2 separate regions of the Homo sapiens genome follow, and region 1 is linked to region 2. Evidence: promoter capture Hi-C in human tissues and cell types (Jung and others, 2019). All regions are on one chromosome and are shown on one strand. Each heading gives the region's core, a stretch centred on a gene start or on the middle of the fragment in contact. The rest is flanking DNA. Distances are from core to core; before and after follow the strand shown.

Region 1 (2,940 bases), core at 338-2,837, 1.2 Mb after region 2:
GCTCCTCCCTCTCTCCTCCTCTTGTTCCTGCCATGTAAGCTGCCTCACTCACCCTTTGCCATCTGCCATGATTAAAAGCTCCCTGAGGCCTCCCCAGAAGCAGATGTCACTATGCTTCCTGTACAGCCTGCAGAACCATGAGCCAATTAAACCTCTTTTCTTTATAAATAACCCAGTCTCAGGTATTTATTTATAGCAGTGTGAGAACGACCTAATACTCTACCCAATAATATAAAGGAATGTCCTGGGACTTGCACTTCCAGGAGATGGAGTAGATGTACTTTTCCCTATTGCCTCCTCTAAATACAACTAAAAACACTCTACATTTTACATAGAAGATAAAGATAAGAAGACTGAAAGTGTAAATAAGAAAGCAGACAAGCTAGGAAGCTCAGCACCCAAGGTGTCAGAGGTGATGTCAGAGAAGACTTAAGGAAGTGTCATCTGTGTTACATAAATGAGCCAAATATGACCTCTGTGTATTGGCCCCTGGCTTGTTTACTTCTTCACAGAAGGCTGAGATTAATTCACTCAAAAGCCAACTAGTATCAAACTCAAGTTTTACAAATCCAGTTACTTCAAACACAGCTCAAAGAAGCAGACTGTTAGCCATTTAGAGCCTGTCTGCTTTGCATAGCCTATGAAACTGTACCAAACATCTACTAATCATAGATAAGATAAAACCAGCAGTGATAACAATCCCATTCACAGCGCTCTGACCCAAAGACTCCTGATTACTTATATGTGTTAAGTTCCCTCTCTGATCCACCTCTCTCCTTCTCTGGCAAGACCCAGAGAAGATAAATCTAAAGAAATCCACACCTAGGTACTTTATACTCAAACTGTGGAAAACTAAAGACAAACAAAATGTCTTAAAAGCAGCAAGAGTGAAATAACAACTTATCTAACTTATCTATAGGTAGAAAACAGTTCAAATGACAATGAATTTCTCATCAGAAACCATGAAGGCCAGAAAATAATGACGTATTTTTCAAGTTCTGAAAGACCTGTTAACCCAGAAGCCTATATGCAATGAAAATATTCTTTATGAATGAAGGGAAATTAAGAAATTTTCAGATGAAGGAAAACAAAAGAATCTGTCTCCAACAGACTTATCCAAAAACAAAGCTTAAAGGAAGATCTTTAAACAGGAAGGAAATGATAAAAGAAGGCACTTTGAAACATCCAGCAGGAAGAAGAAACACAGTAACTGAACATAGGAGAAAATATAATACTTTTCTCTTGAGTTTTCTAAATCATATTTGAAATTTAAAGAAAAAATTATAACACTCTGTGATATAGTTCTAAATGCATGTCAAGAAAATAAGAAAATTATATTATAAATGAAAGTGGATAAAGTGACACAGAGGGAGGTAAGGTTTGCATACTTCACTTGAACTGGTAAAATGACACACCAGGAGACTGTGTTATGTGCATATAATGTAATACCTACAGCAGCCACCTAAAAAGCTATCTAAAAAGACATACTTAAGAATAGATACGAATAGATAATCAAAATGGAATTCTATAGAATGTTTAAGTAACCCACAAGAAGGCAGAAAAACGTAAACAGAAACAAAAAAGAGAACAAAGGAAAACAAAAAATTAAATGGCAAACTTAAGATCTAACATAATAATTACATTAAATGTAAATAGTCTAAACATGTTAAAGACATATTGACAGCATAGATTTAAAAACATGACCCCAACATATACTATCTACATGTAACTCATGTCAAATATTACAAGGTTGTATTTGAATATAGGCAGGTTGAAAGTAAAAGAAAATGGTAGATAGTAGAAAGTAAAAGAAAGTGGTAGATAGTAGATGATAGATAATCATGTAAACATTAATAAAAAGAAAGCAGAGTGGCTATATTATTAGACAGAGAAGACATCAAAGTAAAGAAAATTACTAAAGATAGAGAGAAACATTATGTAATGACAAAAAGGGTCAATTTACCAAAAGACATAGTAATCCTATATGTATATGTGCCAAACAACAGGGACATAAAATAATTGAAGCAAAATCTGATAGAAATGAAAAGATAAATAGACAAATCCACAATTTTACTGGAAAACTTTAACACCTCTCTCTCAACAATTGATAGAATAACTGGACAGAAGATCAGCAAGGATATAAAACTCAGTAGCACCACCGACCAACCATATCTAATAAAGATTTATAGGATGCTTCCCACAACAACAGCAAAATACATATTCTTTGCAAGTGCCAATGGCACAAATATAAAGAAAGATCATCTCCTGGGCAAACAAATTATACAAATCACAACAAATTTAAAATGACTGAAGTCATACCAAGTATATTATCTGAGGACAATGGAATAAAACTACAAATCAGTAGCAGAAAGATAATAGTCTCCAAACACCCAGAGCCTAAACAACATGCATTTAAATAATTTATGGGATAAAGCAGGAGCTACAAGATAAATTTTAAAAATACACTAAGCTGAATAAAAATAAAAATGAACAACTCAAACTTTGTGGAACACAGTGAAAGCATGCTGAAATGAAAATTTTTAGCACTAAAAAAGAAAAAAATCTCAAATCAATCTAATCTCGCACCTCAAGAATCTAGAAAAAGAAGAGTGAAATAAACCCAAAACAAGCAGAAGAAAGATAATAAGAAAGATGAAGACAGAAATTTATAAAATTGAAAACAGAAAAATAGTAGAGCAAATCAGTGAAACAAAGAGAAGTTTCTTAAAAAAAAATCAATAAATATCTAAAAGCCTCTAGCAAGAGTGACAAAGAAATAAAAAGAAGACACAAATTACCAGTAACAGGAATGAAACAGAAGATATTACTACAGACATCAAAAGGATAATAAGGGAATATTCTGAATAACTCCACATACAGAAATTTGACAATTTAGAGATTATAGATTAATTCCTCAGAAAACTCAAACTACCACAACTC
Region 2 (2,700 bases), core at 60-2,559:
CTACTCTGGACATGTTACTTCATCTCTTTGAGACTGTTTCTTCATCTGTAAAATGGGCATATTCATATCTCCCTCAAAGGCTGTGTGAGGCTTAGGTGAAGTCATGTGCATAAAGCACCGGGCAGAGTGCCTGAACGCAGTGGAGACACAGCACATGGCAGCCTTCATAACCATCACCTTCCAGTGTAGATAGAGCAGGATGCTTCATGAGTTGGTGCTGCCCACCATGGGGGCTGAGAGTGGGAAGAGTTTTCAGTCCCTCAGGCCCTTGCCCCCTCTCGGATGAACTAGCCCAGCCCTTGGTCAGGCCCCCTGGGCAGGAGACACCAGGTGGACGCGAATCCTCACCATGCACTTGCGGTCATCTATGCCTGTCAGATCCTCCTCAAACTCCTTCCCAACCTGGAAGTCCATGATGTAGTTCCTAAAAGTGCTCAGCGTGCGGATGATCATATGGTCACCGTCCTGCACGATCTCTTTGTCTGGCTTCAGCAAGTTGGCGATTTTGCGCAAGGCCACATTGACGTCTGCGGTGGGGGTTGAACGGGGAGAGAGAGAGCGCCAGAGAGTTGGCAGGGAAACTCAGAGAACCGTTCCCAAGGTAGCGGGGCCCCAGGAGCCCTCTCCGCCCGCGAACACTGTTAGGGTTCCCGCTGGCTTTGCGTTGTCTCTGCGCACAGCCTGCCTGTGCCTCCCCTGCCGCCCCCAACAAAGTTTTCTGCTCTTATGTTAACCGTTTAAAAACAAAAAGTAGCAAACCAAGCCCCAGATTTACTAATGAAATTACCCACCTCCAGGGCCAACGAGCAGACATTTGCCACCGGTTAACCTAACAACCCCGAATTCTCCAATCTGCAGCCTGGGGGCTGCCCTGGGAGCGGTGGCCGAGGACGCCCTTTCTGGCGTCCGGGGGCACCGGACCGCGGCTCGCCGGGATGGAGGCAGGCAGGCAGCGTCTCGGGAGGGCTCTAGGGAGCGGCCCGGAGCTGCTCGGCGGGGCGCCCAGGGCGCAGCGGGCAGCGCTTACCGAGGGCGCGCAGGTACTCCTCGAAATTCTCGTTGACCAACATCTTCCAGTACCCAGTGAAGTCGACTGGCATTTCGGGGAGTGACTGGAGCCAGTTGGCCACAAGCGGGCGGGACGGCTGGAGACTGCCGGGACAGCGGCTGCCGGTGCTACGCGGGTGGTGGGCGGCCCGGAAATGAGCGCCCTCCGGGGACAGGGGGCTCTGCGGGGCGGCGACAGCTGGATTCCCAGCGCGCACAAAGCCTGCGGGAGGATCCATTGTAGCGGTCGCTCCTCCCCGCTTAGCGAGGGCGGGCGCAGGGGCGGGGGATGTCGAAGGGTCAGGTTTGTCCAGGCCGCGCCACCTTCGTTTCAGACGTTCAGTTCGTTTCCCCTACAAAGGAAGAGGAGACCGGAGACGGGACGTTTGCTTTGTTGGCCGAACTCTTCGGCTGCTGGGGATTTCCTTCAAACGCCATTAACTTCTCACACTCAGCAGCCACTCGGGAGTTGGGAAACAATCTCCTGGGGTTTGTGCTGGCGTGATTAAGGAAAGAGGCCACTTACAGGCCTTTGTCTAAAGCCTCGCGCCGGTGGTGGCTGGGGTCAGGAAAGCTGGGAGGTTCAACTACGGGCGAGAAAATTGGGGCACTTTCCACGTCTCTCCCGAAAATAAAAGAAAGGATGCCGGGCACGGCGGCTCACGCCTGTAATCCCAGCACTTTGGGAGGCCGAGGCGGGCGGATCACCTGAGGTCAGGAATTCGACACCAGCCTGGGCAACACGGTAAAACCTCGTCTCTACTAAAAATACAAAAAATTAGCCGGGCGTGGTCGCGGGCGCCTGTAGTCCCAACTACTCGGGAGGCTGAGGCAGGAGAATAGCTTGAACCCGGGAGGAGGAGGTTGTAGTGAGCCGAGATCGTGCCACTACACTCCAGCCTGGGCGACAGAGTGAGACTCTGGCTCAATAAATAAATAAATAAATAAGTAAAATAGTTGATGTTATTTGAAGTGCATGTGGCTAAAAAAGCCTTCTGGGTGATTCTGATGCACAATCAACTTTGAGATCCACTGCTGCTTTATGCAAATGTAAGCAATATACTGTTTATTAATGTTTCCTCCCGTTTCACCTAATGGCAGCACTGTACTCCACGGTGTTCTGGACTTTGCTTTATTCACTTAATATATTCTGGAGACTTTTCCATAGCTGTACATAGAAAGTATCCCCATTATTTTACGGAGTATTCCATTGCTTATCCAGCTTGTCCCCTGATGGACAAACTATATTGTTTCTGATCTTTCACTATTAAAAGCAGTACTGCAATGAAAATCTTTGATCACATCTCCTTTGTCACCTGCGTGGGTATGTCATTGTGGTTTAACTGCATTTGCCACCAAGTAGATGACATAATCACATGGGCTGACTTTTTGACCCTCTTTTTGACTACCTCTTTTAAATCGCTTTTTGCACAAATCACAGCCTAAGTGACAGCAGATAACATTTTCTTCCCCTCTAGCACCACCTTCCCCAGGGTGCCTCCCTGGGGCTCACATGTGTTCTCACAGTGCAGGCTGAATTAGGAAAAGGAGCCTCTTCCTCAGGGTAGAGACAGCTTCCTCCCAGGCAGCAACTTGGATTTCAGCGCTTCTCACCCTCTTTCCCTAGACTAGGATTTGTTTCTTAATCTCTGT

The links. Contacts are between HindIII fragments. The study calls those that stand out against the background at their distance.
Region 1: a fragment that was not itself captured here is called in contact with the fragment with the promoter of RBP1 in region 2 in 1 of the 25 tissues and cell types used here (IMR-90 fibroblasts).

The regions. Positions count from the first base shown.
Region 1 is chr3:140,781,314-140,784,253 of GRCh38, forward strand. No RefSeq gene overlaps it. Among named protein-coding and RNA genes, the nearest start is that of TRIM42, 100 kb to the left of the region's middle. The HindIII fragment of the contact is 4,455 bases long and covers 1-2,940 here.
Region 2 is chr3:139,538,433-139,541,132 of GRCh38, forward strand. RBP1 (retinol binding protein 1) reads right to left here and starts at 1,310. Exons shown (of 4, transcript NM_002899.5): 1 at 1,028-1,310; 2 at 349-527. The coding sequence starts at 1,286. All of the region lies in intron 3 of COPB2-DT (COPB2 divergent transcript), which reads left to right. RefSeq lists an enhancer at 1-385. The HindIII fragment of the contact is 8,428 bases long and covers 1-2,700 here.